Linked DNA regions of Homo sapiens: region 2 is linked to region 1. The links are contacts of gene promoters, found by promoter capture Hi-C in blood cells and fetal thymus (Javierre and others, 2016). All regions are on one chromosome and are shown on one strand. Each heading gives the region's core, a stretch centred on a gene start or on the middle of the fragment in contact. The rest is flanking DNA. Distances are from core to core; before and after follow the strand shown.

The links. The method cuts DNA at HindIII sites, captures the fragments that hold promoters and counts their contacts. A CHiCAGO score of 5 or more calls a contact.
Region 2: a contact is called between a fragment that was not itself captured here and the fragment with the promoter of FCRL5 in region 1, in 1 of 17 cell types (naive B cells). The highest score is 5.3, in naive B cells.

What each region holds. Positions count from the first base shown.
Region 1 is chr1:157,549,964-157,555,240 of GRCh38, forward strand. It overlaps FCRL5 (Fc receptor like 5), which reads right to left and starts at 2,552. Exons shown (of 17, transcript NM_031281.3): 1 at 2,369-2,552. The coding sequence starts at 2,399. The HindIII fragment of the contact is 25,493 bases long and covers 1-5,277 here.
Region 2 is chr1:157,792,934-157,798,210 of GRCh38, forward strand. It overlaps FCRL1 (Fc receptor like 1), which reads right to left. Exons shown (of 11, transcript NM_052938.5): 8 at 5,228-5,277; 9 at 4,935-5,006; 10 at 4,168-4,199; 11 at 1,470-3,237. The coding sequence ends at 3,166. Among named protein-coding and RNA genes, the nearest start is that of FCRL2, 18 kb to the left of the region's middle. The HindIII fragment of the contact is 309 bases long and covers 2,517-2,825 here.

The DNA of each region.
Region 1 (5,277 bases), core at 1,302-3,801:
TGTGTTTGTGTGTACATGTGTTGAACAGGATGGGTGGATCCTTGAAGGTACCTGAAGGAGATGATACTTCACAAAACTGTGAGTGAGAACATGAGTCTGCAGGTGGATGTTAGCATTTGTGTGTGGTAAGAGGCGATTTCTACCTTTCAAGGTAGAAAGGGCACAGAAGTGGAGAAATGACATTGGTGCTCAGGAACTGGGAGTGTTGGGGGAAATAAGACCAGAGAAGCATGCAGGGCCTGAGTAAGTGGTTCTAATTTTATTATAAAAGTGATAAGGAGTCATGGAATGGTTTCAAGGAGGAGATTGACAAGGTTAGAATTTCAGACTTTGATGGAGCACTCTGTCAGTGGACAGAATTTAATGGGACAATATGAAGCAGGGAGACTGATTAGAAGGCAGGGCAAGGAAATGGACATGAATTAAGCCTCCCTTGGGCACCAGACTCCAGGCTATACTCTTTTCATGAGATCATTGAATCCAAGGGCTCATTATCATCATGCCTAATTTTTAAACAATCAACTGATGCTCAGATTATTTAGACCTGATGCTCAGCCCAAGAGATGGTAATGTGTAATTTTTGTCAGAGTATTTATCCAAATTATCTTCATTATCTGCTTGTTTATTTTCCCTTCTCTATAATGCAAGCTCTATGAGACCTAGGACTTTCCTTATGTTCACCATATATCCTCCAGGACCTATAACGGTGAATGGCATATAAAAGATATTCCTTTAATGTTCACTAAATATATTTGTGTTGTATAATGAATTAATTAAAGAACTAGGTTAATAATATAGGAATAGAAGGATAGAGATTTGAGAAATGGGTAATGAAGAGAGAGAGGACACAAAACTGGCAGGTTTATCAATTGAGTAGGTATTCTGCATATGGGTTGATTTATTTATTCAACAGATTTTTGGAATGCCAATCATACTCCAGAGCAAGGCAATAGAAATCCAGGAGTGTGTGAGAGACAAATCATCCCTGTCCACATGAGGCTATTGGAGACTTATCCAAACTTAAGTGTTTTACTGAGAACAACAAATTATTCACCATTCACCTGAATATTTTGGCTTCCTTCATCTTTGCATTGTTTTAAATGAAGCTAATATTTTTGTGAGTGGTTTCTATATGGTCTGCATTTACGTAGGTTATTTCATATAACCATGTCAATAATCCTGTGAGGTAAGCACTAGGATTAACTGCATTTTGTAGACCAGGAATCTGGTAGCCAGTAGGTGGCAAGATGAAGTTTGAACCTAGATCCTGTTTGACCCCAGAGCCCATGTTATAAACTTTGCCCTCTCATGCTCAGGACCTGGCCATTACCCACATTGTGTGGGGCCACACTGAGATGTATTCCTACTTCAGGAATTATAGTCCATGCACCTTCCAACTGTGAGGTCCTCTTTTCTTATATCACGCCTGCTCCATTTCTGCTCCTCTAGCTCCTACTCACCTCTAAGTTTCATGAAGTCTTTACTAGCTATTTTGAATACAGTTTATTATCTGCCTACAGCATTCATTGGTAACTTTGCCTGGACAATTATTTAACTGGGAGCTTGTTGCATAGCTGCTTGAAAGTACATTGGCCTTGCTGGGAGCCCTTCTATGTCATGACTTTCCAGAACATAGACGTAGTGTCTCCTATGGACTCTAATTGCTCAGCACCTGTGCATAGATATTACTAAACACATTTGCTGAACAAATAAATAAACATATTTAATTATAATATTTAACCTTTAGTAAAAATCAACCAGTTCGCACATATGAGTTGATAGAGACTTACGTACACCCACAGGGACAAAGAGAAAGTCATATGCTTTAGATTTATCCTTGCTTTGTCCACCTACGCCTCTGCGACCTCCTCCACCCCATGTTCTTAATCAGCCAATTGCTGCAGTGGTTTGCAATTATGTACAAGAGAAAGACCTGTCTTTCCCGTTAGAAACCTTGCCTCTTATGCTGGGGACCAGGATCTGGCCTTGTCATACAAGGAATAAATACATCTCCTCTGCAGAGAGGAGAGTGGGCTCTTCTATGAGTAAGACAATATGAACAAACAAACATGAAACATTCTCTGGACTTTAAGAAGTACTTTTTAAAGAAAAAAATAAATGAAATTTTAATTGTTGTGGTTATTGTGGTTTCCTACTCTGTAAGATTGAAAATTCCTTCCAGCTGTGGCCATTTTCTTCAGCCTCAAGAGAAAGCCCTGAGCTACAGAGTAAAGTTCAAAAATACAGTCTCCTAATGTAGGAGAGAGTCTCTCAGCAGGGGCTGAGCCCCAAGAAAGGACCAGGCCTGCGGTGGAGAGAGAAGCTGTCCCGATCCCACCCAGGGCCCATGGTGAGCCCTTTTACTCACCCAGGACCAGTAATATCACCCACAGCAGCATGAAGACCTGGACCACCAAGGGCTGAGATCAAAAGAGAAGTTTCCTCAATTCCAAAACAGGTTTGGACTTGATCTTACAGTCAGGACACTGCACACCAGCTCCAAGGAGCACATCTGAGAAGCTGTGCTCTCAAAAAGAGCAGAATGCATTAGTGAATTGAAAAAAGGAAGTGGGAGTACCCGTCTTCAGCTGCTAATCACAGTTTCCTACCCGATGATCAAAGAAAAAAAAAAGTTAAGGTTTTAAAAAATCAAATACCCTTGACCCTACATTTTTGCTATTGGGAAATTACCCTGAAGGAAGTATCTGAAGAGAGTACTATAAGAACGTTTATTGTAGCATTCATTATTGCCTAAACACTGGAAACAAAACAAAAAACCATGATATGGGGACTGTTTAAGAATATTCTGATTCATCCGTATGGTGACAAGCAATCATTAAAGAATAAGGTAAATCTGAACATGCCAAGAAGGGAAGACCACCTTGTTTGATGTGAAGAGAATAAAAGTGAGATATAGATTGGTTTTGTAGTATTATCCCATTGGGTAAATATAAAAAATAGGATATATGTGTACATCAACTCTTTTAAGTATACTTTCTTCTTTTCCTGGAAAGTACACACAAAAATATTGATTATGTTTGAGGAGCAATAGGTGGGAAGAACACAATTTATTTTATGTATTTCTGTACCGTTTGATTTTTTAAAAAATTACCAGGTGAATGTATAGCTCTTATGATTTTCTAAAAGTCAAGTTTCCATCCTGGTATACTGGTCAACAGAGGTTCCTAAGACATTAGCTGCCACGAGGAGTGCCAGTTTCTTTCTTTCAAATATTTTCTCACCCTTTCTCTCTGGGCCCATACCTTGGTCTTCCTAAGGGGGCATTTAATTTTATATCTACAAATGCACATCACCTTAGGTATATTATGTCACATCTGACCCACTGCACCCTGAGGCAAGAAAACCATACAGGGGTTACAGGGGTGAATAGAGATTAAGAGGAGAACTTCAAAGGGAACACAGAATCTTTACCTACTTTTGGTGCTAAAACAAATAGTGCTGCTATGAACATTCTTGTATACATTTATTGGGGCATATGCGCACATAATTCTGTTGGGTATATATCTGGGAGTGGAAGTCCTGGCTCATAAGGTATGCATATATTCAGTTTAGGAAGTATTACCAAATTATTTTCCAAAGTGGTTGTGCCAATTCCCACCACACCCACCAACCAATGTATGAGAGTTATCATTGTTCTAAAATTCTTGCTGATATTGGTATTGTCATCTAGTAAAATCTGGCCGTTCTGCTAGAATTATCTCAATGTGGTTTTAATTTGTATGTCTCTGGTGAATTTGAGAATGAGCATTTTTTCATAGTCTAATTGGTGATGTAGATATCCTTTTTATGTGCAATCTCTGTTCAAATATTTCCTCATTTTTCTCTTAACTTTCAGTCTTTCTTTTCCTGTTTTGTAGTTATTTTAAACCCTGAATATAAACCTTTTGTTGGATATATGTATTGCAAATGTCTTCCTTCAATCTGTGGCTTGCTTCTTTGCTCATTGATAGTGCCTTTTGATGAACAACCATTCTAACTTTGACATAGTCCAGTTTATCAGTCTTCTCCTTTGTGGTTAGAGATTTTTGCATCCCTTCTAAGAAAGTTAGTCTACTCCAAGATCATAAAGATACTCTCCCAGGTTATCTTCTAGAAACTTTATTTTTTACCATTTATTTTATATTTATAAGAGCATTGCAATTGATTTTTGTGTACAGTTTGAGTGTTTATATTCACTTTTAACTTAAATACAGATAATTTATCCTGCCCTATTTATTGAAAGTTGATTTTTTCCACAGTACAGTGCAATTTCACCTTTGTTATAAAACAAAAAGCCATGTAGGTCTATTTTTGGAAACTCCTTTCTTGTCCATTAGTCTATTTTGTCTATCCTCATGCCAATACCACACTCTTCTAATTATTGTGGCTTTATAATAACTCTTATTAACTGATAGTTTAAGTCATAAAATGCTGTTCTTCTTCAAAATTGTTATGGCTATTTTTGGCTTTTTGAATTTTTCTATACATTTAAAAATCACCTTGTCAATTCCTGTCCCCTCTCTCCCCAAAAGCCTAGTAGATTTTTAATAACTGGGATTGCATTGGATTTATAAGTTAATTTGTATAAATTAGAAAAGATTTAGTCTCCCAATCCATAAACATACAATATCCCCTCATTTATTTAGGTTAACTTGACATTCTTTCAGTAATTTTCTATAGCTTTGCCTCTGGAAAGTATATCTTTTGGTAGGTTTATCCTTAGGTTATTGATATGTTTTTTATGATATTGTAAGTGACATCATTAGATTTTTTTCTAAATGTATATTGGTATATAGAAATATAATACTTTTTTGTTTTACTGACCATTATTTTTATTTTTTTGAGACAGAGTTTTGCTCTTGTCCCCCAGGCTGGAGTGCACTGGTGCGATCTTGGCTCATTGCAACCTCCACCTCCCAGGTTCAAGCGATTCTCCTGCCTTAGCGTCCCAAGTAGCTGGGATTATAGGTGTCTGCCACCATGCCCAGCTAATTTTTGTATTTTTAGTAGAGATGAGGTTTCACCATGTTGGCCAGGCTGGTCTCAAACTCCTGACCTCAAGTTATCTGCCCGCCTTGGCCTCCAAAAGTGCTAGGATTACAAGCGTGAGCCACCATGCCCGGCCTTACTGACCTTTTAATATCTACTAAAATTGCGGAATTTACTTATTAATTTTAATAGTTTATCTTTAGGTTATTTTAGATTTCATGCAAACACAATCATATAATGATAGTTTTATTCATTATTTTTAATACTTAAACTTCCTTTTCTCTCACT
Region 2 (5,277 bases), core at 1,421-3,920, 240 kb after region 1:
ACAACAATTACATAGATTTCTCAAAGAAAACAGAAGAAGCTAGACGACCATGGAAAAAAATATTACAACTGTTGAGCACAAAGCTATGCTATCAATCTTAAATTCTGCTTTTGGGCTTTTTGGACAAATAAACTCACAGACCCTATCAAAAATGATGGGAACGTTTAAGTTCATGAAGAAAGAAATTGATTAAGAAGAAGTGGAATGTAAGAAGCCATAGATAGCATTTCATGTGAGTATTAAGGTAAAGGGATGATCATACAATACAAAGAAGTTCAAACTTCTGATCACACCATACTCCAATTTCATCCTTTGAGGCCCTCCCTGAGCTCCAAGCACATAGCAATGGCAGGAAAAATACAAAATGTAAAAAAGCTGTGTTTGTTCTATAAAAAGAAAATAAAAATGTCCATGGACCAGAAACAGAAAATCAAAGCAGAAATGCAAATGAAGGAAATAAGAAAACAAGGATATCAAGAGAAAGAACATTAAAGCATGGAAATAGAAAGTACAGAGTTCCTGAGCTGGGACTAAATTTGGTGTGCTTGAGGAACCCGGAGGCTAATGTGCTTGAAGTTAATTATGCAAGGGGAAGAGTGGTAGGAAGATCTGTAGTATTAGTTGGAGTCTAAAACAGGCTTAGGTTGAATTCAAGTGAGATAAGATAGCATAATAATAAAAGGGAAAAGAACAGACTATTTAAATAAATAGTAGTGCACAATTTATATGTGTTTGAAAAAAGTTAGATCCCTACCCCACATTTTAAATTAAAAAAAATGCATAAAGATAAAATCAGTAAAAGTTAGATTCTTACCTCATACCACATAGAAAAATGATGTATTGAGTGAATATATAATAAAACTATGGAGGCATTATAAGAAAATATAAGAATATTTTATAACATGGCAACATGGTCTGATAGAAGATGACAGAAATATAGGAAAGTTAGAAACCAAGATTTGAAAAACTTGAGTTTAGCTGTGCAAAAACTAACCTTCAGTATTTTAGAATTCACTGTAAACAAAAAGTGAAGTGAAAGATTGCACAAAAACATTGTCATCGCATACAATGGAGAAATGGTCAAAAGCATAATGTTCAGTAGTTGTTTCTAGAGTGGCATAAATAGACTGGACATGAGTATGAGGGAACTTTCTGGAGTGATGAAAATAGTTTATCTCATGATAAGGGTTTGGATTACTCAAATGCATGCATTTGTCAAATTGATGGAACTATGCACATAAAATCTATGCATTTCACTGTTATAAATTAAGCCTTAATAAATCATTCCTATAAAAACTGTAAGAAAAACACAAATGACATAGAAGATGGGCAAAGGCTGAACAGAGGACAGTTTCTCTCTCCTGCTGCCATGTGAAGAAGGACATGTTTGCTTCCCCTTCTGCCATGATTGTAAGTGTCCGGAGGCCTCTCTAGCCATTTGGAACTGTGAGTCAATTAAACCTCTTTCCTTTATAAATTACCCAGTCTTGGATATGTCTTTATTAGCAATGTGAAAACTAAGTAATACACCCCACAAACTGATTTCCCAGACGTTGTTGGTGAAGATATAAATTGATACAGCCTTACCTGAGAGACATTGAAGACTATTTAACAAGAATATTTAATATGCATAATCTAGCAATACTAGATTTACAAATTTATCCTTCAGATAATCCAGCAGGAGTGCCATAATATGCTAGTACAAAGACATTTGTTTGAACTTTGTTTTTATAATATGAATTTTTTGAGAGTCTCCTTAATGTCCACCAGTGATGAGAAGGATTAAAATATATTATGATAGTACTTAATGCCACTGAATTGTACACTTAAAAATGGTTAAAATGATCAATTTTATGTTGTGCATATTTACTACAATAAAAAAAGAAAAAAGTTATGATTTATCTATATAACACACTACTATAGAGACTTTTAAAATAGTATAATAGATCTATTTACAGATTTGAAAGTATTTCATAATAGTTTGTTAGATAGGTACACTTCTAAATGTTTATATACTTACATGTATGCATAAGTATACATACAAAAATAGAAAAATATCTAGAGAGCTACCTGTAAAGTTTTTAACAATAGTTAACATTTGTGTTAACTTACAGGAAAGACTTTAACTTTTTACTTTATATACCTCCAAATGTTTATTAATTCATAAGAGTGAGTGCCTGGTTATTTTAAAATTCAATACATTGCTTGAGCCCAGGAGTTTGAGACCAGCCTGGGCAAAACGGTGAAATCTTGTCTCTACGTAAGACAAAAAATGGCCAAGTTTGGTGGCATGTGCCTGTAGTCCCAGCTACTCAGCAGGCTGAGGTGAGAGGTTTGCTTGAGCCTGAGAGGCAGGCGTTGCAGTGAGGCAAGATTGTGCCACTGCATTCCAGATTGAGTGACAGAGTGAGACCCTGTCTCAATTTAAAAAAAAAATAATTAAGATACAGGTTTCAAACCATATTACCACGATTTCAAAAATTTTGTGAATAAAAGAAGACACACTGTATTTATAAAGCTTCTAGGGGCTGTAATAGATACATAATTTTGGATGTGGTATAGGTTGGCCTATATATACAAAAATACGTCACTAAAATTAAGTGGAGTCACAATAACTTTTTATGTAACTTTGTTTTAGTTCTAATTTGGTAACAGTGACTCAAAATAAATAGAATCATATTTTAGGTGGAAACTCGATGATCCATGTAAGTAGCGGGGCTGGAGTTCTGTGCTGTCTGGGCAGAGAAAGCACTTGGACTGAATGATGGGCACAGCTCTCTCTGTGAAGTCCTGCAGAGTCACTAACCTTGAGTTCATGTGCTCTAAGCTTCACTGTCCCTCCAACCCAAGATCCCAATTTCTTTTATTCCATCTTGTTTCCTCTTGTAAACAGAAGAGCACAATATGACCTGTTTTCAAAGGAGCCGGCAGGAATCTGGTTCTGATAACAAAGTCCCTGTCACTCCTGTGTCTATTAGTTCTCCTAGGTAGTTTCTTCAGGGCTGCGCCAACTTCACTTCACAGTAGATGAAGGAATAGTGCCATGGAGAATGGCATCCAGAAGAGGTATACTGGAAAGCTAATGCCCCAGGATCTCTGAAGAACATATCAGGCCTGAGGCTTGGGGTCATGGATGGTTTTCAAAGAGCAGAATCTTCCATAACCTTACATAGCATCTTCATAGTCCACATCTGTAATGTTTGCTTTCCTCAGCCTGGAATAGATGTCTAAGGAAACCTGGAAGCAAAGATTAGGACTAGAGCAGGGAAGACAAGCAGAACATGCCTCCACTGGTCCCCTTCCCCAGTTAGCTTGGATGCATCTTATCATGGCACATCACGCAATGCAAAAATAAGGGCCTCTTGGAAAACTGTGGTCCAAGGCCAGCATTTTTAGAGTGCCTGTATCCCACTGGTGGACTACAAAGATGCTCCTGATAAGCTGCAAACTGATGCAAACATACAGTGCCTTCGCTCATTCTTATGGGCCTTTGTTAGGCAGGCCCATGGGCTGTCATTTTTTAAAAGGTTGTCAGAATTTTATATTCATAAATTAAATGTAGCATGTCACTGGACTTCACCAAGGATTTGAATTTTGTTCTGAGATATCTGGCTGCCACACCACACTAGACAAAACTGCAAAGCACCTACTGTTTTTGCACACATGCACAGAGCTGGAATTTCTGCAGTTTTAAGAAAGTATTTTTGTATCAGTGGTGATACCTTGAATTATTCAAAGTTTACCAAATGCTAATTTTTAGTGACACAAATTACTATTAGCTTAGGTTTGTTCAATATTAATTTAGTTGCTGTAGATTGTTTGGTTAACCTTATAGTACAAAGTGATGGATGTATGGCTCAACAATATTTTAGGATAAAGATTTTCCAATAAATAGAATTTTTAGACTAGGTATGCACTGCAGTTTAGCTAAAAATCATTCATGTGTCCATTGCTAAAGTAAATGTATTTGTAAGCCTTCAAACTTTCCTTGTACAATGACCCCTTATTGTTGTAACTATGTGTTTTTACCTCCATTGCTTTGGGATGTAGGGAAGAGGTAGACCATGGGATTTTTGCTCTTTCTAAGTGGCTATAATTTAAGAAGTTTGAGAACCAGTCCCCAGAGGAAAGAAAGAACATGGAAGAAAGAACAATAGAGACTCTTACCTTGTCCTCCATATGTGTCCCCAGGGTTTCTGCTGTGGAGAAAAGACAAGTGCTGTGACATTCCACTTATATTTAAAGTCCTTCACTAAACTTGTGTTAAGAAAAGCTTCTTCCTCTCCCATCTATTTCCCATGAATTGATTTCCATTAATATTTTCTGTCTTGCTTTTCTGTTTATCACAAATGTGATTCCCTTAGTAGCCAGAGGAAAATTGGTAGCCTGGGGGTGGGAGGGTAAGTAGACCCTCTATGCCAGGAGGGGCCTTTATACCTCTCAGCTATTCTGGGCTCACCATGTGTAGGATGGGACAAGAGCACCAGCTAGGCAGCTGTGATGGGGTTATGAGGAGTATGTCAGGCTACTTAAAGAGGGCAGGCAGAAGCCATCACCTCTGATGCTGCCACATGACTGGGGAGCGAGGCATAAAATGTAGGCCATACAATGACACCTTATTGTAACTACATGTTTTACCTCCATCGTGTTGGGAGGTCAGGAAGAGGTAAGCCATGGGATTTTTGCTCTTTCTAAGTGACTATAATTTAAGAAATTTGACAGCCCATCCCCAGGGGAAAGAAAGAACCTTAGCATTAGCTCTGGGCTCTACTCAAGGTAGCTCCAGACCCAAGGACAGCCATTAAGTACACACAGTGATGCTCACAGCCTTCTGCTCTGAGGAATGCTGTTGTCTGCCATGCACAGCCACTGATTGTTCTCTTGGTTCTGGGAAAGACAAAAGTCAGAGACAAATTTACTCCCCCATGTCTCACCTGCTACTGATTCCTGCTCCGGCTGGTTATAGTACGCCAGTGAATAAACCTCATCCCCACTTACAACATTCACTGCAAGAGAAGGAGGGAGACTTCATGACACAGCCCCTGATTCCTGTCTTTCAAATTACTCCATACCTTCCACCTGTCACAGCCATGAAGACAGATGAGTCATTTGTTTGTAGCAGAGGCTAGGGCACAGCAAAGTCAGGTTTGGCTAGCAGATGTTATCCCATTGTCCCTTCCCTAGCTTGCTGTACCATCGTTGGCCTGGGCCATTTGGGAAGGCTCACCATTTTCATATATAGGCTGTAGCTGCCCTGGGGTAGGTGAGTTGAGGTAG